Linked DNA regions of Homo sapiens: regions 1, 2, 3 and 4 are each linked to region 5. Evidence: promoter capture Hi-C in 16 types of primary human blood cells and fetal thymus (Javierre and others, 2016). All regions are on one chromosome and are shown on one strand. Each heading gives the region's core, a stretch centred on a gene start or on the middle of the fragment in contact. The rest is flanking DNA. Distances are from core to core; before and after follow the strand shown. Region 1 overlaps MYOF (myoferlin). Region 2 overlaps MYOF (myoferlin). Region 3 holds the start of CEP55 (centrosomal protein 55). Region 4 overlaps MYOF (myoferlin). Region 5 holds the start of CYP26A1 (cytochrome P450 family 26 subfamily A member 1).

Region 1 (4,802 bases), core at 448-2,947, 310 kb before region 5:
CTGGAGCTAGAGCATGGTTTGAAGACCTCTGACCTTGGTCACAGCTAAGATCTTTTTCAGCCCTAGCATCCCAAGGTACTCTTTGAGATCTGTCCTAAAGCCAATGGCTCTCTTTCAAACACCAGAGACCTGAATCCAGCTGGGAGAGTTGCCGACTGATTCATTTCGAAGGTTAGGGCCATGGGAAGGAGAAACTTTTTGCAGTTGTATTAGCCTGACTAGAGACACAGAATTCTTTTTGCTGTTGCTGCCTAGAGGAATAATCCTGGATTATTGCCTTTCAGGGGGAAGGAGTTGCCTACAGAGGCAGGATCTTGGTTGAATTAGCCACTTTTCTTGAGAAGACACCACCAGATAAAAAGCTTGAGCCCATTTCAAATGATGACCTGCTGGTTGTTGAGGTAAATGTTAAAGTGTGAGTAATGCATGGTATAGAAAAGGAGACCTCCAGGGACTGAAGGGGTAGCTGGGGGAGTCGGAAGGCAACCCAACTCACAATGAGGCCCTCATCTGGATGTTTCTACAACAGCCCTATGAGGATCGCTTCATCCTTTGAGATGTTAATACCCTATTGAAAACTGGCAAGAACACTGATACCCACAAACTGAATGACCTGTTTGCTAACTGGCGTTGGGGGTCATGGGGAAGTGGCCATAACAGCCACTTCTTGCTGGCACCAAGAGCTGTAGGTGCCACCTCTACTCATTTCCATTTTCAGAGGTGGCTGGTGGGCCTCAGGCTTCCCAGCACAGGAGGGCAGGTGTGCTGAGGGCCCACACTGCAATGGCTGTGAACCCCGCTTCCTCCTTGAAGACAGGAAATCTTCCCAGTTGACTTCCCCAACCATTTCTGAGAATCCAGGTCGATGCCTGTGTGTTCCACAAATCTGAATCATTTGCCAGCACAGCCAGCTCATGGATGCCCCTCTGCCCGCGGCCCTCCTTGCTGGGTTGCAAATCACCGCCAGCCCCCCAGCTGCCCCAGGCTGCTGTTGCCCTCTGTTCCAAGCACACAGGACAGGCCCTGCCCTGATTTCACCACTTTACAGCAGAAACCAAACAGCAACTTTTAAAAAGCTTTCACTTTCAGTTTTTGGGATAAGAATACGAAAATACAGTAAAAAGGGTGACAACGTGGTTGCGAAATGTGGCTATTCTCAAAGCTCATGGGGTCAGGCTGGTGTTCTGGGTCCCTGACAGTCAGCCTTCCTGTCTACTCGCAGCCTGTCTCCTTGTGGCAGGACTGGGTTCTCCATGCTCTCCCCCAAACTCCCGTGGTACCCAGAACACGTTTTCATCTGAGTCCAGGCCCAACTGCCGTGAGTTCTCCAGCGAGCCAGGGCCTTCTCCCTCTAGTCGTCTGATGTCTGCCTGTTACATCTGCCCCCTTTGCAGGATGATTGACAGGGAGAATAGCCACACCCTTTAACAGAAACTATCCCTTCTTCCCCAGAGCAATGTGGCCTTGCTCATTGACTCCCAGAAGGCAGCCGTATCAGGAGGTTAGCATCCAAAGCAGTCTGTTCTGGATTCCTCAGCCTTTACATGTTGGGAACATCTGTGGTCCAGTGCTTGAGCTGCACCAATTTCATTCCTGTCTCCTCCTTTGAGAGGAAAGGAGCAGGCTCCTGAGACTGCCCTCTCTCCACCCCCCAGCCTCAGGAAGGAACCTAGCATCACCACAGCAGCAAGCCACGGGGCATCCGTGTAACTTCACATGGGGAAAATAAATAGTTCTTCCCCATGAATTACTACAGCAAAGATGATCATTTGTTTTGTTTTTTTACTAAAGAGACACGGAGCCAAAAGTCAATAAGGTCCTGGTCATAGTCTTTCTATTCCACAACATTACCCACTCTGAAGTCCAGGAATTGCAATAGATCTTGAGGAAAAATTAAGAAAAGGAAAAAAGAGGGCGGGAGAGTGAGAAAAGGGACAGTTTGCATGCTAGTTACAGCCAGGATCATGCAAAAGAATAGCCAGAAACCACTTGGAGGCCTCCGTGGAGACACATGGTGGTTCTTGACTTGAGTAGTTACAGATTGGAGTTAGCTCTTGAAATATTGGTTGGAATTCAGGGTTATTCAGAAATGCCACCATGGACACTCAACCATTATAGTACCTCTTTTATTTGGTTCCATCACCAGAATGTAATTTAAGTTCATGCTGCTTCTCTTTGTTTTAAATAACCATAGTTGCAGGGAGAAGGAGAAAGAGGCCCAAGAAAATATTTTTTAAATGCTTTATTAACTGGAATGCAAAACCAAATTAGTTTTCTTCACTGCAAATAGTTAAACACATACAGGCAAAGAAGCTTATTTCATTAATTTAGTGTAAAAGCAAAAAAAAAAAAAAGTCAACAATATATATTGCCCACAGTATATGTCAACAGAATAAAAGAACAGCTTTTTATTGACTGGTAAAACAGAATTCATTTTCTTTGCTCTAAATTAAACACAGACAGCAAAATAGCTCATCTTTTTAATTAAATAAATATAAATCAAAAGTGAAATGAAGCAAAAATTTTAAAAACCTAACAGTGTTACAGAATAGGAGAGAAATGAGGATTCTGAAGACATAGCCACACTTCAAGCAACAGGAGCCCCAGGAGAGAGTGAAATGAGCAGATCTGTGCACCTGCCAGAAGGACTTAACGAATGCAGTCAACCTACAAACATGCTCATGACCCTTGTCTGTCTTGCAAAGGTCCTCTGTTCTGGATTATGTGCAGCTAACAAAACTTTTTGGTAAAGCTAAAGAGGCTGCAACAAATGGGCAAATTTTTTGCCAAACTGCCAAGTGCTCCCCATCTTTCTAAAGCAGAGCTGAGCTATTGCTCCCGGTGGGCCTGGTCAAGAGAGGCTGCAGTGCAGGAGGGATGCAGCAGATTCAGCCTGGCCACTTCCACAGTAAGAATCAGGCAGACAGAAGATCAAGTGTTGCCAACCCAGTGTTATTCTAATACCCGCTGGCTTCTGGAACCTCTGCCCTGCCACTAAAGGACTCCATTTTTTGTCTCCAGGATCAAGAGTCTGTTCTTGGACTGCTTTCTCCCTGCTCCTCTTTCCCCATTTTCCTTGGATGTGACCGAATGTATTTTGGGAGCATTCTATGCACTTGCATTCTCTCTCCTACTCAACTACAATCTCCTTGAGAGCTCTCATTGGTCTGGCCCACATTAAGGGCTCAAAAATATTGCTAGAAACAGCACCTTCAGGTTCTTCCAGCTGCTCCATCAGGTATCAGCTCCCTTCAGTAGACATACCGAAGGTGGCATGCTGGGCAGTGTTCATTGGTACCTGATCTTGTCACTGACCTTTAATGTCCCATGCCTTGTGTGTCCACAGCCACTTTCAACAACTCTTAGCCCTTATCGGTATCTTGCTTGACAGAAATCACCTCCTTTTGCAAATCGACTGCTGAAACTCTACTTTATACCACCTTATCCACAAGGTGCACTAGTCACTGATGATCAGAAAGAGAGCCCCAAGGCCCTAACCCCACCTAAGTCCAATAGACTACAACTTACATTCTTCTTTTTTTTTTTTTTTTCTGAGACAGAGTTTCACTCTTGTTGCCCAGGCTGGAGTGCAATGGTGTGACCTTGGCTCACTGCAACCTCCACCTCCTGGGTTCAAGTGATTCTCTTGCCTCAGCCTCCTGAGTAGCTGGGATTACAGGCACCTCTCACCATGCCCAGCTAATTTTTTGTATTTTTAGTAGAGATAGAGTTTCACCATGTTGGCCAGGCTGGTCTCAAACTCCTGACCTCAGGTAATCCGCCGCCAGCCTCGGCCTCCCAAAGTGCTGGGATTAAAGGCGTAAACCACCACGCCCAGCCCAATTTATATTATTTCATTTTCTCTTGTTGTAGGCAGATCTTGTCCCAGGCTCTGTACTTCTCTGAATGGTGTTTATTGTTCCTTCCTCTCTCTACCTCTTTGTGCCCTGAGGGCAGAGAGGAAGTGGGAAAGGTCTGAGGGAGCGGCAGAATTCTCAGCTGCCTGAATCATCGAGGGTAGCCTGGCTCTGGCACAGGTGAGCAGATGGTAGCGTTGCCCCTCCTGGAATCTGGGCTTGCACAGTGATCCAGCGGCTCCATCTTCAGCGGCTTGCTCATAGTGAGTCCCTTCTCTGTTGGGAATTGTGCTGATGGCCAGAAGCCCAAACTATTGCTTTTAGGGCTCAGACTCTCCAGGGTGAGGGTCCTATCAGGGATTCTGTGGGTCATTTTGCAAGCTCTGCGTGAGAGCATCCATGGGGTTCTAATGGAATCCTGGCTATGTGGAGGCCTACGGGGTAGAGCCGGCCCAGCTGGGAGTATCATCCCCGTAGTTCCCACCCCACCTCCAAGCCTCCCCATGATCCTTCTCCATCCTGTGCAGTCCCTGGCTTAACAGATGGCTCTGGCTTAAATACCGGTCATTTTCTCCTGGGTCCTGACTCAGGCCACAAATTATGTTTCCTATTTTTAGCTCTTTCCCTTTTCTCCTATCATCCTAGTTGGTTTACAAAGAAGTTATGCTGTATGTAGTTATGACTAATCCAAATAACTTCCTACTTTTTCATTTTGACACAATTCAAACCCAAACCCAGAATTTCCACATCATTCTGGACCACGGGTATTCCAGGGGGCTTCGCTGTGGGTAGTTAAGCAGAGCTCTTGACAAGTAGCGTGCACCCCCAATCCTCCCTTATCAAGGTGACAGTGGACTAAGCTAGGGAGGCTTTTAGACTCACAATGCTCCCGTCAAAGCTTCCTCAGGTCATTCAATGTGCAGCTCAGGTTACAAACCAGTGTTT
Region 2 (4,728 bases), core at 2,155-4,654, 260 kb before region 5:
GGGAGGCTGAGGTGAGCGGATCATGAGGTCAGGAGTTCGAGACCAGCCTGGCCAATATGGTGAAACCCCATCTCTACTAAAAATACAAAAAGTAGCCTCGTATGGTGGCACATGCCTGTAGTGCCAGCTACTCGGGAGGCTGAGGCAGGAGAATCGCTTGAAGCCAGAAGGCAGAGGTTGCAGTGAGCTGAGATCATGACACTGCACTCCAGCTGGGCAACAGAGTGAGACTCCGTCTCAAAAAAAAAAAAAAAAAAGTGGTAGCCTTTCTTGTCCCTTCTTCCTTTCCCCCAAGAGGCTCTACTGCAGGTGACATTCTGTGTTTTTTTGTTTGTTTTTTTTTTTGGCGTTATTATTTCCAAGGTAGGTTAAAATAAGCAAAGAGGGGGTCTGATAAGAATCTATTCTTGTTATAAATCTGAGTGGGAGGCCTTCTATAGTTTGACAATATTCCACAAGTGACTCTGACATGCTGTCCCTTCTGCCCAACCAAGGACTACCCATTCAAACCAGAGATTCCCAACACTGTCTACGTATTGGACTCTCCTGGGGAACTTCTGAAAGCTTATTGGATGCCCTGGTCTCACCCCAGACTGATTGCATCTCCTAGGATAGGTTGGGAGCCCTGGTCTAACTGAACCATGATGCCTCCTGCCTTTCGTTTCACGTTTTATAATTTTCAAAGCTCTTTCTCCTAAAGATCCCATATGATTTCCAGAACAACTTTTGGAGGTACATGGAGGCAGGTAGATGAAGGCAGCATGTGAATGCTTTGTCCATTGTGTTATTATTGCATTCAGTGGATGAAGAAATTGATGCTCAGAGATGTTAAACAACTTGCCCAAGCCAGTACAGCTTGAAACATAAGGGTATGGCTTATAACATAAAGGAAGGAACTTGAATTAAAACCAGTTTTTCCAATTTTTAGCTAGTGAGTATTGTATTACAAGGCATTACTGGCTAAAAGGGCTAAGAAAATGAGATAGTAGAAAACACATATTGGAGGTTTTCTTTAAATTTATATGTATATGTAAATATGAAGTCAATAGAATAAAAATGTAAAAACCAACAAATTAATAGACTGTGTGTAAAAGACATAAGAACATTATCTAGTATGATTGTGGGCATTAAAGCCAAACACATTTCATCGGCCCAGAATGGCCATTTCACCTCTAGCTTCTGAGTAGGAGAGTCGTGAATGCTTTGTCCATTGTGCATGTAAACAAAAGTCATATAATCTCACTTTTAACAGGGTCAGAAGAACCTATTTCTTCTTAACTATTACAAATGCATTTTCCTGCATCGATTGGAAATCCAGGACATCACTAAAGATTTTTCCATTTTGGCATGTCTTTAGGAGGAAGAAATCGTGGACTGGTGGAGTAAATTTTATGCTTCCTCAGGGGAACATGAAAAATGCGGACAGTATATTCAGAAAGGCTATTCCAAGCTCAAGGTACCTGGATCTATGCTGCTATGGGTGGAGAATCAACATCCTTTGAAACTGGCCACAGGCAGAGCTAAGAGGATGACTAAAAGGTCCCTTGGGTGGGTGCTAATGAGCAGGGCCCAGGAAAACCTCTGTCTTCCCGGAGAGCCCTCTTGCATGAGTTTCGGCTTTGCCAAGATTCCAGGGACTTGAGGACAGCTATTGAGTTATGGTTACGTGACTGCCACATTGGGGCTTGGAGGCATCTGGCAGATGGTTGGGAATGGGCTGGCACCACACTAATTAGGCCACGATGATCCAGTTTGACTCAGGGAAACCCAGAAGTCATAGTGCTCTTTGCAGAATGACACAAGATGTCAACATGCTTTGTTGTGTACTTTGAACAGGGATTGGTTTCACAAGCTGAAAAGTTGAATCTGTCACATGTATGCAGCATAAAATCACAGCCGTGAGAACATGTATACAGCAGGAAGACAAGCGACTGAGCTAGGCACGGCTGACTAGCTCTGAGCTTTCTGTTCATGTTTTGAATTTTCTAATTCTTCATTCAATTTTCAGCCTGTAGTGTCCTCAAGCAGAAGCAGTGCTAAAGTTTTCAGAACAGTGTATATGAGAAAAAAAAACTTTAGAATGAGAAATATCTGGTCATTGAAATAATTTTCCCCATCAAAGCAAAAAAAAAAAAAACCCACACCTTTTCATGTTATTGTCATAACTTCTCAGTGTAGCTTAAGAAATACTAGCATATAAAGGACCATTCATTCAGAAAAATGATCCAATGAGGCTGAAGGATCAGCCTCACACTCCATCCTCCCTCACTCCCTCTTCCCTTCCTGCCTGCCTTCTTTTCCTCCTGCCTGCCTGTCTTCCTACCTTTCTTTCCTTCCTTCCTTCCTTTCCTTCCCTTCCTTCCTTTCTTCTCTTTCCTTCCTTTCTTCTCTTTCCTTCCTTTCTTTCCTTCTTCCTTCCTTCTTTTCTTCCTGCCTTCCCTCCCTTCTTCCTCCCTCCTACCTGCCTCCCTTCCTTCTTCCTTTTCTCCTGCCTTCTTCCTTCCTTCTCCTCCTTCATCCTCTTCCCTTCTTGCTTTTTAAATTGAGAAATATTTTACATACGATAAAGTGATCCATTCAACAAGTTGTGATTATTGTATATACCCTATGTGAACCACCACCCAAAACAAGACAGAACATTCCCATTCCCACAGAAAACTTCCCCGTGTCCCTTTCCAGTCAATTTTCCACTATCCTCATCCCTCCTAGGAGCAACTGATTGGATTTCTCTCACCACAAACTGATTTTGCCTGATTTTACACTTGCTCTAAATGGACTTGTATGATTTATGTTTTGTGTGTCTGGCCTTTTATCCCCACGTTGTAGTTTTGAGACTCATCATGTGGTTGTGTGTATTCATAGTTTTTCCCTTGTCATTGCTGAGTAGTATTCCATTGTGTGGATATGCCACAAGTTATTTTTCCATTCTCCTGATAATGAAGCTGCTGTGAACATTCTTCTACCATGTGTACGTGTTTTCACTTGTCATCAGTAAATGCCTAGGAATGCAATCTCTAGATCATAGAATAGGTGGCTACTTAACTCCAAAAGAAACTACCAGACATTTTCCAAAGTGGTTGTATCTGTCTACACTCCCGCCAGCGATTTGGGAGTTCCGGTCGCCCCATCCACAACCTCAGGCCCACTTGATACTGTCAGCCCTTTTGATTTTAGACCTTACCTGCATTTTAATGAGAAATTAAGACTCTGTTGGTGGTTTTCAGATATATAATTGTGAACTAGAAAATGTAGCAGAATTTGAGGGCCTGACAGACTTCTCAGATACGTTCAAGTTGTACCGAGGCAAGTCGGATGAAAATGAAGATCCTTCTGTGGTTGGAGAGTTTAAGGTGAGTAAGATGTGTGTTGGTCCCGTTTAAAATCCACCTTCATTTTCTATATAGGCCTAGAATAAAGGACAACCAGGCTCTAGGGAGGGGCACATCCTGCAGCCTCTGAGGGATGCTGGCATTTTCTATATAGGCCTAGGATAAAGGACAACCAGGGTCTAGGTAGGGGCACATCCTGCAGCCTCTGAGGGATGCTGGAAGGTGCCAGAAAGGAAAAGGGGGAGGGGGGCCAGAGCACTCGAGCCATCTCCGCATCTCTTCCTGCCTCCCTGCTCACGCCAAGCAGCCTTGACTGAGCCATCTCCGCATCTCTTCCTGCCTCCCTGCTCACGCCAAGCAGCCTTGAATCCTAAGATACAGTCTCTCCAAGATCTAGTTCCTCTCTTCATCCTACTGCCCCTACCATGCTTTCAGCAGGATCATCGTGACAACTTCTCACTTGACAGTCCTTGTCACCTTTCTCGTCACACTCCTCTCCAGCCTCCATGCAACCAAATCTGATCTTCTCTCTGGACTACTGAAAGGCTTTGCTTGGGTTTTCACAGTCAAGTCGCAACTCCTTTCAAAGGCAGAGCCAGTCTTTCCCAAGCTACATGGTCCCCTGCCTCCCTCCCCCTCACACACTCCACCCTCCTGCCTGGGAGAGCCTCGCCCAAGCCCCGGACACACCTTGTCCTCTCAATAAGTCGGAGGCTTGGGACAGGCTCTTCTTCCTTCCCTGGGTGCCCTTTCTACCTGCTTTGTGGTCTGACGAAGTCCTACTCATTCTTTTAAGCGCCAGCTCAAATGTCACTCTCTTTGTCAAGTGTTCCCTGATTGCTTCGGGCAGCGTGACTCACTCCTGCTCTGGGCTCCCACAGGTCTGGGTTCATGCCTCCATGAAAGCATCTTACACATGGAAAGTATCTGCTTTATAATTGCCCCTCCCTGCAACCACGCTTGGCAAAGTCATGGCAGATGTGCTGCTGCTGCTTTATAATCCTTTGCCTGTAGCAGACATTGCTAAGGGACGAGAGGATGATGCCTGATGTGTGGTCTCAAATCCTTCTCAGTACAGCCTCCCACCAAGCAATCACATATGGCACAAGAGCCAACCCTACTGAACATCGCTGTGCCAGACGGGAGTCTTTGAGTTCTTTTGTGGGTCCCTAGTACCTGGCACATAGTAGGTGCTTATTCCATGCTGCTTGACTGAATAAAGACCACTGGAACTAAGACCTGTATGTTCTGAATCCGGCTTCAGTGCTTTCTCCTGGTTTTAAGGCAAAATATGTGGCCTCTCCAGCAGGTCTTGTTGGCTCGCTCCTTCAAAATACAATTTTTGTGGCGTTACTATATGCCTAGTCCTGTGTTAGGCCCTGGAGATAGGGTGATGAAC
Region 3 (4,988 bases), core at 1,072-3,571, 420 kb before region 5:
GTGTGATTAAAGGATATAAAGGAGTATGAGCCCATTAGTGCATTCAAAAATTACTATAAAGCCTACTATTTACCAGGTATCCTAATACATGCTGGGTGTAAACTGGTTTAAAAAAAAAAAAAAGACATGTTCCCTAATGTTATGGGGCTTTCAGTGTAGTAAAGGCAGGCAATAACAAGGAAACAAACAAGGGTTCATGAATCCTCAAACTGTAATAAATATTACACAAGAGAAGTACAGGGATAAATGATATCAGTAAAAACAGGAGAGACCTCCTTAGAATGGTAGTGAAGTGACTTTTAAGATTGTCCTGTGTGAAATCAGAACGTCTAAACATATTAGAACTGTGGAGATTGAGTAGAAGAAATCATCTATCAAAAGGTTAGTCCTGGATTTTTGCCATTATAAGGTGAAAGATTGCAGTAGCTCATCCATCAGTTAAAGAAATGCAAGGTTATGGCGTCTCTCAGTCACCTGCTGCCACAGGAAGTTCTTTCCTATGTGTTTCTGTTGATAACACACTGTTGACTTGATATCGTGGGTCGTAGGACAGAAAACTACTACCAAGTCATTGAGACACAAAATGATGGAAATATAGATCTGCAGAACGTGAAAGAACCCCCAAACATCTGCTTCCTAACCTTTGCACAGAAACTCTGGCAGTGAATGAATGACTACTAGTTTCTAGCCTCTGGCCCAGACGGTTTGGATCTCCCCCACCACCTAGTCCCACCAACCTCCTTTCCCTGTATTTTCTTTTTTCTGTTTCTGTTTCTTTCTTTTTTTTTTTGGCGGGGGCGGGGCGTTAGGGGCGGCAGAGTCTCGCTCTGTCGCCCAGGCTGGAGTGCAGTGGCACTATCTCAGATCACTGCAACCTCCGCCTCCCGGGTTCAAGGGATTCTCCTGCCTCAGCCTCCTGAGTAGCTGGGACTACAGGTGCGCGTCACCACGCCTGGCTAATTTTTTTTTATCTATTAGTAGAGATGAGGTTTCACCATATTGGTCAGGCTAGTCTCGAACTCCTGACCTCAAGTGATCTGCCCGCCTCGGCCTCCCAAAGTGCTGGGATTACAGGCGTGAACCACCGCGCCCGGCCACCTTTCCCTGTATTTCCTATTCCAGTCATCCACAGGGTTCCCCCAGTTCAAACCTTCCTCAGCATGCCTTCCCTCTGTGAACTCTTAACAAACGATATAGCTGCCCCACCCCCACCCCTACACAATCTAGTACCCAATTACACTTCCTGCTAACCTTTTATTTTTTCAATTGTTCAACTATTTTTTCAAGGACTGCACTTTGATTTTTGTTGTTGTTGTTGTTACCCACAGAGCCTAACAGCAAGCCCTCAGATATGATTGGTTGATTGGGGCCGGGCGCGGTGGCTCACGCCTGTAATCCCAGCACTCTGGAAGGCCGAGGCAGGTGGATCATCTGAGGTCAGGAGTTCGAGACCAGCCTGCCCAACATGGCGAAACCCTGTCTCTACTAAAAATACAAAAATTAACCGGGCGTGGTGGCGCACGCCTGTAGTCCCAGCTATTCAGGAGGCTGAGGAAGGAGAATCGCTTGAACCCAGGAGGCAGAGGTTGCAGTGAGCCAAGATCGTGCCATTGCACTCCAGCCTTGGTGACAGAGCGAGACTCCATCTCAAAAAAAAAGAAAAAAGAAAAGAAATGATTGGTTGATTAGCTGAAGTGACCTAAGTCATGCTGGACAGGTGACCAAACAAGCGCTTCCATCCAGTAAATGGTACAAGGCCTCAATTACAAGCCGCATCTTCTACAAGGCGACGCCAATCTTTAAAAATTCCCACATAAAATCTCACTTGAGGAGACAGACAGGAAAAGAGAAACTGCAAAAAAAGGCACAAGTTTTCTCACTTCTAAAATAAAGATGTTTGAGGAACACACAACGAAAGTGCCTGCCAATCGGAAAAAGCCGTCCTAACAAAAGACCTTGGGCAAGTCACTTGGCCTCTCTGCGCCTATCTGTAAGGAGATGATACCCACCGCCAAGTCCAAAGAAGCGATCGAAGAGACAACGGTCTTGAGGCGCCCAGCCGGGTGCCAGGCACGAAGTGAGCGCCAGGGAAAAGGACTGTTATCAGAGCGGGCAGAGATTGAATCCCGCGGACGCGATCTGCCCACTGACCTGCCCTCCCTGGCGGTCCGGACCGGCCCGGCCCCGGGGCTGCGGGTCCTGGCCGCCCCTCGCCACCCTCCGCGGTCGCCTCCCTTGGGCCAGCTAGCAGCTGAAGCGAAGCGCGGCGCTCGCGTCGGCCGAGTCACACCATCAGGTGTGGATGCCGCTTCCGGGAGTTTGAATCCCGCGGCTGCAGGGCGGGGCACGTCACTGCCGGCAGGGCGCGGCCCGCAAGAAGGAGGAGCAGCGCGCGCGCGGCGGGGACGCGGCTCCCCGATTGGCTGCCGCCTTTGAAGGGCGGAGAGTAAACCTGAGGGCGGGCCGAGAAGTGGCTGGGGCCGCGGGGCGGGACAGAGGGCGGGAACACTTCCTCCCGGGCCCGCCAGCTAATTCTGGGATCGGGGGTTCTCTGCGGGCTTAGACCTAAACAAGCTTGGTGTCTCGCAGTCAGGGGCTGGTTTTGTGTTTATACGCTTTTAGGAGAAAGCAAATTACTATTTTTAATGGGATAAAACCAGTGACGATGGACCGAGACGAACTAGTTCTGCGCTCTTGAGCATAGATTCTCCCTGTGTGAAGTGCGGCCCCTCCTGCCCTGGGACAACGGGATTTCACAAAGGAGCACAGCCCCCTTGTCATCCCCTCGGGTCTCACTCTGTCGCCCAGGCTGGAGTGGAGTGGTGCAATCATAGCTCACTGCAACCTCAGTCTCCCGGGTTCAAGCGATCGTCTTGCCTCAGCCTGCCGAGTAGCTGAGACTACAGGCGCACGCCACCACGCCCGGCTAATTTTTTATTAAAAAATTTTATACAGACAGCGGAGTGGGGGGGGGGGGGGGTGGTCTCACTTTGTTTCCCACTCTGATCACGAACTCCTGCCTTCAAGTGATCCTTCCACCTCGGCCTCCTAAAGTGCTGGGATTACTGCCAAAAATCAGCAGCACAGCAGGGAGTGTTAACGGGAGAGATGAGAGGCACGCCCAGGTTGAACGCTGAGATTATGAATGCTAGCGGACCGGCTTTCAGACCAGACTGCTACCCTCCAGCCTGATATCTATCTATTGATCGATTCTAGCTCTTGATTAGCCGCTTTGAGAACGTTACTGCTGAGAGAAGAAGCACATGAAATGTTTAGCAGGGCCTCCCTTTCTCTCCTAGACCCAGCATAAACTCGCTGGAGATTTAAAACAGTAGATACACAGTAGCAAAACATCCTAGGTACACAATATTGTACAAAGGTTATAAACTCTAGATTAGGACTTTCTAGATTTAATTCCTTACTGCCCTGACTAGATGTGTCTCCTTGGATAAATTTATTTAACCTATTTGAGCCTCGGTTTCCCGATGTGTAAAATGATGCAAATAATAATATTTACTTCACAGCTCGGTTATAAGGATTAAATGAGGAAATCCGGCCAGGTGGAATGGCTAATTCCTGTAATCCCACCACTACGTGAGGACGGGGAGCGAGGATTGCTTGAGGTCAGGAGTTGGAGACCAGCCTGGGCAACACAGAGAGATCCACTCTCACCCCACCCAATCCCTGTCTCTAATTTTAAAACTTTAAAATTTTTTTACATGAAAGAAATTCATGTAAAGTGCTTAACATTTAGTAAATGTTCAATTGATGTTAGCCATTGTTAAACAAAAGGCAACACTCAAATGTTACTGAATAGAATGGATGAGAAAACCATGTGGGGAATTTTAAAGAATCAGAGAAACAAAACCAAAACAGAATGCAAGATAACGTTTGGTACCTGCTTCCAAGGAGCTCCCATTTCTGAAGGGAAGGTAAACTAAAGTATCAAGTGGGATTAGGGTGGGAAAAATCAGGGCAAAAGATAAATCATCGTGTGAACATTATTCATTGCCCAGAGTTGAGGGGCAAAATTAATTTCCACAGAGATTTACAAAGATTCTTAAAGAGATATAGAGAAAAACATTTCCCTGTTCACCTTCAAGCCAAATGGGGAGCAAAAAATGGGGGAGAGGGAGGAGGGACCCTGGAGAGAGGTGGCACCTGGCGGACTGGCACCTGGGTAGCCAGCACCCAGGCCTGCTGTGCCAGACACTCCAATTCCACACCTGCCCTCCAGGACCTTCTTTTCTGGCTAAAGGTCGCCCTGTGAGTGGGGACCTTGAGGAAGAGGAGCAAACAAGAGGCTCATTGGCCTGGGGGGCTTGTTAAATTCCCTAATTGCCATTGCTAGCCCTGAAAATTAATGTTTGCTCTTTACAGATAGGAGCTGCCAGTCATGAGGTTGTGAAGAGCTGGTAGTTTCCACAAGATCTCACAAGTACTTTGATGTTGATAGTTCACTCAGGGATAGTCTAGGATGAAGATTGGGAAACTCATCTTTATTCATGTAAAGAGAAATGTAACAGCCAAGCAGACTAGATATTTATCTAAGCAGGTGAGCTCATTTTCTTCCCAGTAGGAACCTGTTCTTGGGAAACCAAAACAGGATCAAAAGGCTGCTGAATGGGTTTAAAGATATTAAATGGAAATAGGGAGGCTGTTGTAGGTTAGAGCACCTATCACCTTTGAAGGTTACATCTTCCAAGGCAATGCTAATGAACACACAGGGCCTCACCAGCGTGTAGATCTGCACTGTCCAATACAACTTTCTGCAGTGATGGAAAGGTCCCTCCTGATCTATCCAATATGGTAGCACTAGCCATAGATGGCTACTGAGTGCTTGAAATGTGGCCACCGTTATTGAGAAACTGAATTTTTAACTTTATTTAATCTTAATTTAAAAACTAAAAGTTTATTTATTGAAAAACTTTTGATTTTCTTATTTTTTTCTTTTTTTTATTATTATTATTTTATTGGAAAACTTTTAA
Region 4 (4,928 bases), core at 261-2,760, 390 kb before region 5:
CAGTCAAGCCAGGTGCCTGGCCCTCCTGGGAGCCCTTCCCAGCAGCCCTGGCAGTGAGCAGAGCTGGGACATGACCACGCCCCAGCATCAGCTTTTAGGAAGCAGATTCTGGCTGAGTCATTCAAATGGACTGGACTTCACTGCAGCTCCCTTGGAAAATGTGGGTTTGATTCAAGAGCCTGTACATCTGAAAGGTCATTCCCAGAGGCCAGTGGGGCACTGGGTGTGGAGAGGGGAGCAGTCACCCCTCCTGCCTTTTTGCTGGGGCATTTCTGTTTATCAGTGATATCAGTGACTGTTTCAGAAATGTCCCAAACAGCCTCGCTTTGTATCCTGTTGCCACTTGCCCAAAATGCCTTTCTCCTAGAACCTGTTTGGCAGCATCTTCCTGGAACGATAGGGCAGCCAAGGTTGGAAAGCCAAAGTCAGAGACACTCCTGGAGAGGGGTCCACCTGATGGGCCCTGTGTCCCTGTGCTCCCCCAGGTGTCTCTCAAGTCCCCAGGGTGGAGGCGTTTCTGCCAGCCCTTCTCAGAAACTTCTCTGCCCCTTGTTGATAGTAGAAATTAGCCAGCTCCTGGAGGCTGCCAGGCTGCCTGCCAGAGAGGAGCAGTCACTGCTCACATGCCAGCTGCCCCAGGGAAACTCAGAAGCCTGGAATGGAGCCACGTGGAAGAAATATTCCACCAGGGCGGTCCCAGCCTCACAGGGCACTTCCTCCAGTCACAGGGGCCCTGCCCTCCGGAGCTCCACAGCCTGGGAACTCCCTGGGGGGATGCAAGGAGGCTGCCCTGGTGCTGTAATAAGAAATCATCTAGCTGTGTGCGGTGGCTCACGCCTGTAATCCCAGCACTTTGGGAGGCGGAGGTGGGCGGATCACCTGACGTCAGGAGTTCGAGACCAGCCTGGCCAACATGGTAAAACCCCATCTCTACTCAACATACAAAAAGTAGATGGGCATGGTGGCACATGCCTACAGTCCCAACTACTTGGGAGGCTGAGGCAGGTGAATGGCTTGAATCCAGGAGGTGGAGGTTGCAGTGAGCCGAGATTGTGCCACTGCACTCCAGTCATCTCAAAAAAAAAAAAAAAGAAAAGAAAAAAAAGAAAGAAAAAAGAAAAGAAAAAGAAAGAAATCATCTGATAGCTCTCATTTGTTTAGTGCTTACTGTGTGCCAGGCCCTGGGCTGGGCACTTTGTATTCATTCTTTCATTTAATCATTAAAGCCGCCTAGTAATCACACTTATATGAACTTATGAAGTCCAATTTACTCCGTCATGGAGAAATTACTATGTAGTAAGCGTTGTGGGGGGAATAACAATATTAATAATACATAGTCTCAGCCTTCAAGGCATCACCCTCTTGTCTTAATCCTCCAACTTTGGAAACTAATTGCTTTTTGTCTCTTTCGACCGGGGTTTGAATCCCAGCTCCATCACTTACTAGCTGTATGACCTCTAATAAGTTGCTTAACCTCTCTGTGTCTTGGTTTCTTCCTCTGTAACTGGGAATGATCATAATAGAATTTATCTGTTAGAGTTGTGAAGATTAAGTGAGAGAATCCATGGGAAGTACTGGGAACAGTGACTCAGTTCAGAGCACTTAATAATAAGTGCTAGCCATGTATGGGTGTGGTTCAGGGGTGTGTGAAATGTTAGGCAAAATGGCAGATGAATTCATATGGGGCTTTATATATCTCAAAAGAAAGGAGGCATGACCCAGAGACCTAGAAAAGGGGAAGAAGTACTTCTGAATGGGAGATCAAATGTAGACTCTTGGCTGAACCTAGAGATCTTGTTGTTCTATTTTGTCTACCGAAGAGCTGAGTTACTTAGGGAGCTTTTGTAGACAGCACCCTAACTTTTCCTGAGGCCATTTCAGAAAGACACAGCAATCTAACCGTTCAGGACTTGGGGGGCACATCATAAAGGTTATGTACCATAAGTCTGGGGGAAAACTTAGAGATTATATATCTCGTCTGAATGCATCAGTTTATATATGAGGGACTCTGAGCTTGGGGGTTCAGCCTTATATTTTCCTAAGATAACAGCTCAAAGGAAGAGAAGTCACAGATATGAAAGTTCAGTCAGAGGGGCTGGGCCGACATCTGTGCTTTTCCCTGCAGGATTTTTAGGATCAGTGAGACGGTGTGTATTTGGAAGCATTTCAAATGTGTTACCATCGTGTTACTTCCGTGGGCACCTGGTGTTATTGGTTGGACTAGTCAGGATTCTCCAGAGCAGCAGAAGCAATGGGATGTGTGTGCATGTGTTTGTGCAGAGACAGAAAGAGAGATTTTAAGGAACTGGCTTATGCAGTTGTGGGGGCTAGCAAGTCTGAAATTTGCAGGGCGGGCCAGCAAGCTGGAAATTCATGTAAGAGTTGATGTTGCAATCTCTAGTCTGAATTCCACAGCTTAGAAAACTCAGGCAGGGTTTCTATGTTAGAGTCTAGAGGCAGAATTTCTTCTCCAGGAAACCAGTTTTTGCTTTTAAGACCTTCAACTGTTTGGATGAGGCCCATCTAAATTATAGAGGGTAATTTTGCTTTACTTAAAGTCAACTGAGTGTAAATGTTTATCACATCTACAAAATACCTCGACAGCAACATCTGGACTTATGTTTGACCAAACAATTAGACACCACCATAGCCTAGCCAACTTGACATTAAAATGAACCAGCGCAGCTGACCACCGGCACAGATGTAGCAAGCCAGTCTCAGGAGTCCTGATGTCTTTCAGGCCTTTTTTTTTTTTTTTTTTTTTTGAGACAGGGTCTTGCTCTAACACCCAGGATGAAGTGCAGGGGTGTGGCCACTGCAGCCTTGACCTCCCAAGCTCAAGCAATCCTCCCACCTCAGCCTCCTGAGTAGCTGGGACTATTGGTGCATGCCAGTATGCCTGGTTAATTTTTAAATATTTTGTAGAGATGGGCCGGGTGTGGTGCCTCACGCCTGTAATTGCAGCACTTTGGGAGGCCGAGACGGGTGGATCATTTGAGGTCAGGAGTTTGAGACCAGCCTGACCAAAATGGTGAAACCCCCATCTCTACTAAAATACAAAAATTAGCCGGGCATGGTGGTGGGCACCTGTAATCTCAGCTACTCGGCAGGCTGAGGCAGGAGAATCACTTGAACACAGGAGGCGGATGTTGCAATGAGCCAAGATTGCACCACTGCACTAGATCCTGGGCGACAGAGTGAGACTCCCTCTCAAAAAAAAAAAAAAAAAAAAAAATTTGTAGAGACGAAGTCTCACTATGTTGCCCAGGCTGGTCTTGAACTCCTGGACTCAAGCGATCCTCTGGCCTTGGCCTTCCAAAATGTTGGGATTACAGGTATAAGCACCGCACTGGGCCAGGCCTTTTCAATAAGGTTCTGACACACTGGCTGGTAGGTGAACAGCAAAGGAAATGGTTCCGCGCAAGAGGGCGGGTGGTTTGGCTAAGAGAGCTGTTCAGTTCTCCCGGAAACCTTGTTTGGAGGCTGGCATTGGGGTTAATTACTGCAGTGGTGACCTCCGCAGAACTGAGTGAGAGGCAGGCGTAGCTAATCGGAAAACAGGAAATGTCCTGAAGAACGACTTGAGCCCTTGAGCACACTCAGAGTGTGCTCTGCATTTGAGTCAGTTGTTATGTTCTGAGCTGAAAATATTTTATTGCTTTCCATAGGAAGAAACAGTCATCTTAATAAAATTAGACGCAGGAGCCAGGTTGGGGGGTAGGTAATGTGGAGAAAGGGGAGGGAGTTTCCTGTAATTCAATTTGATGTTCAGTGCCTGCAGGTTTAACCTTTTTTTTTTATTTTTACAGAGGTAGAATAAAATAATTGACTAATATAAATATGTGACTGGCTGCTGATAAGAAAAATAATTTATCTACTTTTTTTTTTTTTGCCTGATGTGTTTATGTGTGAGAATAGGTTTTCAATAAAATGTAACATATACACATTTTGATAAACATCAGAGCCTCCTTCTTGAAAGAGATTGAGCTGGGTTTCTCCAGAAGGGTAGGAGCCAATGCCAGCCACTTAGTTTTTCCTTATTAGCTAGGGAAATGGGAGGTGCAGTGGTTAAATGCATGGGCTCAGGAGTCATACTAGACCTGGTTAGAGGGCTTCGTCCTAGCCCTGTGATCTTGAGCAAGTTACCTAACCATTCTGGGCTCTCTTTGCTTCTCTGCAAACTGAGGATAATAAAACAGTGCCTACGTCATAGGCTTGCCAGGAGGATTCAATGAAATGATGCATGTAAAGGGCTTAGCAGGCCGGGCACGGTGTCTCACGCCTGTAATCCCAGCACTTTGGGAGGCCGAGGTGAGCGGATCACTTGAGGTCAGGAGTTCGAGACTAGCCTGGCCAACATGGGGAAACCCTGTCTTTACTAAAAATATAAAAATTAGCTGGGTGTGGTGGCACACACCTGTAATCCTAGCTACTCAGGAGGCTGAGGCAGGAGAGAGATTGTAGTGAGCAAAGAGCGTGCCATTGCACTCCAGCCTGGGCAACACAGTGAGACTCTAACTCAAAAAAAAAAAAAGGTGGGGGGCTTAGCAATGCCCAGCCTGCAGTGAGCATCCCCTAGAGGTAATGCCATTAGCATCAACCTCACACAATGAGTGCCAGGAGCTGCAGGAAGTTCTGGTTGAATAGCTCCACCTGGTCTGTGGTCAACTGGCATCTGCCTGGACTCAGCCACTCCCCTTTGTTTTCAACACACAATTGAATCATGTGTTCAGGAACATGCATTGGGAGAATTGTTGGGCCACTTGGTTTTTCTCATGAGTTATAAAATTTTGAAGTTATAAAATCCAGTTTCTAATACCCTCCTCCTTTAAGTACTTATATCAGCCAAATGAAGCTTAGCCTGGTACTTGAGGCTTCACAGTGAGACCATAACCTTCCCACAAAGCCCGTTTGCCCCCTACCCAGTT
Region 5 (4,445 bases), core at 1,160-3,659:
ACACTCACCACCACCACCCACACTAATCAGCTATTCACACTATGTATGCCCTTGGACACACCAATTCAAGAAAGTGGAACCTATCTGAGAATCTCCACGGTTCAGCAAAAGGTGGAGGAGGGGTAGGAATACAAGGTCAAACCCTGCCCAAGTGGGCTCACAGCTCAAGACTCCATCCTGTTTATTCACAAAGCTAATTCTGCCCACTGGCCCACGCAGCCCTGGGCCCTGCACTTTCAAAATACTCCATGAAGGCAGCACACTGACTTATTCGGAAGTTGGCTAGGGAGCAGCTGAATTTCCTAAGCTAATAAGGACACCCCCAGACCCAGTCTCCCTACCTTACTCTTCAGCTCTTCTCGCACTTTCTGGAGAACATGTGGGTAGAGCCCCAGGTAAGTGATCAGAGATGTGGCTGCACTGGCCGTGGTTTCGTGTCCTCCAAAGAGGAGTTCGGTTGAAGATTGCTTTAGTGCCTAAGAATAGAGTGAGACCCACATTCTCACAAGTCTGCCTGCGGTTTGACAGAAGGATTACTCAGAATCGAACTGAGAGTTCTGGAGGGAAGACTAGAAGGGCTAAATGTTTTGCTGACAGAAAGTCAAGGAAAGCAATATCTTTAAACAAAATGCAACGTCCCTTTAGTTCAGCTGGAGCAGTAAGGCGAGTACGACCCCGCTCTACCGGAAACTCCTGAGTTAAAGTCTTAGTTTTATTAAAATCGCAAGGTTCTTTATTAACATTTTTGCAAATTCCAACTTTCCCTTTGAAACCTGGAAAGGCTAGGGGATGCTCCCAGTTCCGCCGCAGCCCCTTCCGCAGCTCTCCTGACCGGGTGTCTCAGCCTTCCTTCGGGATTCCATAGCTGTAGTCTGAGCCGGCCGCCCACTCCAGAAAGCTGGGCCCCAGGCGCGCGCTTTGGGGGCCCCAGGAACAGCGCTTGGAAAGCCAGGGGACCAAACTCCGCAGTGCCTGGTCTGAAGCTGCTACTCACCTGCATGTCCAGCCGCTCTCCCCTCTCCCACGAGTGCTCGATCAACAGCTGCAGCGCGTCTTTGCAGCCCTGGCCCGCCTCGGATGCCCGCAGCCCGCAGATCTTGGCGCGAATGTTCTGCTCGATGCGCGCGTGAATGAGGTTCCGCGCCTTCATGCCCTGAGCGCAGAGAGCGCGCGGCGGTGAGCAGACGCCCAGGTCCCGCGCCCCTAGTCCGCAGCCCGTTTGCCGCCCTTACCCGGTACAGCCCGCTGAAGGGCACGTCGATGGGCAGCGAGAAGAGATTGCGGGTCATTTCCTCGAAGGCCTCCACAAGCTGCTGCTCGGAGTCCCCGTCGCCCGCCAGTTGGGGTTCGCAGCCCAGTAGGATGCGCATGGCGATTCGGAACATGAGGCGCTTCACCTCGGGGTAGACCAGGAGGCCGCGCTCGCCGCAGCTCAGCCACTGCTCCAGGCTGCTGCCCACTTCCTCGGTGATCACCGGCACGTAGCATTCGAGTGCCTCGCGGCTGAAGGCCCGCATAATCACCTGAGTCCCGAGGAGGGGACAGCGTTAAAAGCCTCCATCCGCCCCTCTCGTCTACCGCCGTCCCCTTCCAGACACCCCCAGTCCTGCCAGACACATGGCACTCTCCGAGCTGGGAAAGCTAACCTGGAGCTGGCAGAGGGTCCTAGCCCACCTCAAGCTGCTAGCCCGCGCCTAGCATCCATCAGCCGGAATTCCGCTCATAAATGGGGTCCCCCTCCCTGTCCAGCCGTCGCCTCCTGCCCCCACCTTCTTGCGCTGCTTGTGCGAGGAGTCGTGCAGGTTAGAGAGGCAGCCAGATCCCAGAATGGTGCGCACCGACGCTGGCCAGTGGACCGACACCAGCCGGTGCTCTCCGAGCAAGATGCGCCGCACATTGTCCGCGCCCATCACCCGTACGGTGGGCCGCCCGAACAGATGCGTCTTGTAGATGAAGCCGTATTTCCTGCGCTTCATCTGCAGGAACTTCCTCCGCTGTGGGAGGAAGGCGGAGGAGAGAAGTGGGCATGAGGGGGCGCCGGGGAGCGCCGCGCTCCCGCCAGCCCTGCTCCTAGCCGCAATAGCATGCCTCCCGGGGGCGCCTACCCCGACTTCAGCAGAAGCCCAGAGCCGCGCCGGGCTCCGGGGAAGCAGCCTGTCCCGCCCCACCCTCCCTTACCTGCAGTACCATCTGCAAGGTTTCCCCAAAGAAGGGGAAGCCCATAGTCCCGGGGGGCAATGGGAGGGCACAACTGCGGTCGCGGCCGCTCACGCAGTACAGGTCCCAGAGCTTGATCGCAGCCAGGAAGAGCAGCAGCGGCAGCACGAAGGTGCAGAGCGCACTGGCCAGCAGCGCCGGGAGCCCCATGGCGCGCCGCGACCTCCCGCGCCACCTGCCGCCGCCGCCAGCGCTTCAAACCCCACGGCGCTGCCGCTTTATAGGCGGCCCAGGTTGCTGCCCACGTTACCTTGGTCAGACAATTAGTTCACCCAAAGTTCATCTTTAATTGCGGATTGGGCCCCTGGCTCCTCCCCCCGCGAGGCGCTGCCCAAAATCTTTAACCGTTTGTTCCGCGCCGAGGCAGAGGCGGCGCGGTGGCGGCTTCCCTCCGAGCGCGCCTCCTGGGGTGCGGGGCTAGGAGCTGCCCGCCTCCCCCATCCAAGGTGTGCTGAGCTCCGAGGCGGCGGTGGGGGAGGGCCAGGACTCCGAGGAGCCGGAATTCCAAGCTCTAGCCTTCCCGGCGGTCTCTTTGGAATCCCTCCCGCCCGGTCCCACCCGCTGCCCCGGCCCAAAGCAGCCTTCACTGGCTTTCCATTTCCAGGTGCCGGGTGGGCTCTCTTCCACGTGATGAGGAAGCAAGGGAAAGTCCTTTCAGGAATCGTCCAGCTGCCTCCTCCCACGTGTGGGGAAACTGAGGTCCAAGAGAGATGCATAAAGCAGGCCTCCAGACGTCTCCGAAGGATCGCGCAGAAGAACTCAGGGCCAGAGTCCAAGAGAGAGCCTCGGGGCATCGGGCGCAATAGGCAGATCTGGGATCCCCAGCTCCCCAACCCCTGCAAGGGGGCCAGGACTCATGAAGTCTTAGAAGGTCCTACTTCAGGATACAAGAAGGCCTCCAGGTCCCTCAGGTCCCCAGGTGCTACCCTGCACAAGCCTGATCCCCGACCCTGGGGCACTTCGTCTGGGGCTCGGCAGTCGGTGCCCGTCTCTGAGATCCAAGCACAGCTCGCCTATTCGGAGGGCCCTGCTGCTTGGCGCCCCAGCTGGACAGCAGGGAAGGGGGTCCTTAGCCCTGGCAGGATAAAGAGACGGTATAAGAGGAAGGGGAGCCCAGGAGTCCTGGCTCCGAGGCCCGGCTCCATCTGTACTGCGTGTGACCTTGGGCAAGTCACCACACATCACTGTGCCTGTTTCCTCCTCCTTAACCGGGAGGCGATCATTCCCGACCTGTCTAAGCCTCAGGGTAGTGAGTTCCCAAAAGGGGGCTCCGGTTGCAACTACTCTTCCCAGCTCCAGGCACGGTAGACTGCGTTACCTGGGTGTCCGGTACACCGGGCACTGGAGTCCTCCTCCTCTCTCCCAAGTCCCACCCAGAGTAAAGCCACTGTCCTCATCCAGGTGAGGGGGTGCTCGGCCCTAAACTCAGGGCTCTACCGACCCCTAATGGGAGGGGTGAAGGGATCCGTACTGGGAAGTCTTCTGTACTTTGCCCATCTACAATCAGCTGCTACTGAGCTGCCAATGCCCGGAGCTCAGACGCTGCGGGACGCGCACCTGCTCTCTCTGCTCTCCACCTGCCGGAGCTTCCCGGCTCGGGACCAGTCAGGGTCACACGCTACCTGGGTTTGGGCGCTGAACGCACCTGCGGCGCCGAAAATGAAACAGAATGACCTGCATTTGTTTAAAACTGAACACTGTCTCTGGCAGAAGCACGCCGCACGCCTTGGAAGGCGTCCCTTGGAGGTGGAAAACTCTGCTCCTGAGAGTTTAAATGCGTTGCCCTTCTCGCGGTAGTCCCCAAACCCGGAGGTATCAGGAAATATCTGCAGAGGTCGGAGGGACCCGCACAATCCTAGCGACTCTCCAAGCCAGAGTCGCCGCCACAGGGAGTGTTTCGGGGGGTCAGCGTTTCCCCATAACCTGCCCAGTGTTTCAGAGGCTCTGGGCAGGGTTTCAGTCTCCGGCAAACGATTTGGTGGCTGTAAACACGGCGAACCAACCTCTGGCCACTGCAGGAAGCCAGGCCAATCGCGCTGGAGGTAATTCTCAGAAATCCCGGGTCCGCCCCTTTCTGGACAGCGCCTCCGGCCGGTGTGCAAAGCCGACGAATGGGGACGTGACCTGGGGCCCATTCCCAATCCTCGGGCCTGACCCGCCTGTGACCCCTGCAGGCCGGACCGTGACATCCGAGTGAACTCTGCGGGGCCACCTCGCCAAGTTCAGCT

Evidence for each region. The method cuts DNA at HindIII sites, captures the fragments that hold promoters and counts their contacts. A CHiCAGO score of 5 or more calls a contact.
Region 1: a contact is called between a fragment that was not itself captured here and the fragment with the promoter of CYP26A1 in region 5, in 2 of 17 cell types (megakaryocytes and naive CD4 T cells). The highest score is 6.0, in megakaryocytes.
Region 2: a contact is called between a fragment that was not itself captured here and the fragment with the promoter of CYP26A1 in region 5, in 11 of 17 cell types (megakaryocytes, M2 macrophages, non-activated CD4 T cells and 8 more). The highest score is 12.1, in megakaryocytes.
Region 3: a contact is called between the fragment with the promoter of CEP55 here and the fragment with the promoter of CYP26A1 in region 5, in 5 of 17 cell types (M1 macrophages, endothelial precursors, megakaryocytes and 2 more). The highest score is 9.5, in M1 macrophages.
Region 4: a contact is called between a fragment that was not itself captured here and the fragment with the promoter of CYP26A1 in region 5, in 1 of 17 cell types (megakaryocytes). The highest score is 5.1, in megakaryocytes.

The regions. Positions count from the first base shown.
Region 1 is chr10:93,383,396-93,388,197 of GRCh38, reverse strand. MYOF (myoferlin) reads left to right here. Exons shown (of 54, transcript NM_013451.4): 19 at 285-401. Among named protein-coding and RNA genes, the nearest start is that of MYOF, 97 kb to the left of the region's middle. RefSeq lists enhancers at 3,627-4,126, 4,127-4,628. The HindIII fragment of the contact is 1,237 bases long and covers 1,079-2,315 here.
Region 2 is chr10:93,334,543-93,339,270 of GRCh38, reverse strand. It overlaps MYOF (myoferlin), which reads left to right. Exons shown (of 54, transcript NM_013451.4): 40 at 1,358-1,456; 41 at 3,225-3,350. Among named protein-coding and RNA genes, the nearest start is that of MYOF, 150 kb to the left of the region's middle. RefSeq lists an enhancer at 4,160-4,728. The HindIII fragment of the contact is 5,675 bases long and covers 567-4,728 here.
Region 3 is chr10:93,493,945-93,498,932 of GRCh38, reverse strand. It overlaps CEP55 (centrosomal protein 55), which reads right to left and starts at 2,321. Exons shown (of 9, transcript NM_018131.5): 1 at 2,010-2,321. RefSeq lists a silencer at 1,993-2,502. The HindIII fragment of the contact is 5,966 bases long and covers 1-2,576 here.
Region 4 is chr10:93,461,702-93,466,629 of GRCh38, reverse strand. All of the region lies in intron 1 of MYOF (myoferlin), which reads left to right. Among named protein-coding and RNA genes, the nearest start is that of MYOF, 18 kb to the left of the region's middle. The HindIII fragment of the contact is 6,694 bases long and covers 1-4,857 here.
Region 5 is chr10:93,071,857-93,076,301 of GRCh38, reverse strand. It overlaps CYP26A1 (cytochrome P450 family 26 subfamily A member 1), which reads right to left and starts at 2,409. Exons shown (of 7, transcript NM_000783.4): 1 at 2,179-2,409; 2 at 1,770-1,994; 3 at 1,233-1,523; 4 at 995-1,153; 5 at 342-476. The coding sequence starts at 2,367. The HindIII fragment of the contact is 6,992 bases long and covers 1-4,445 here.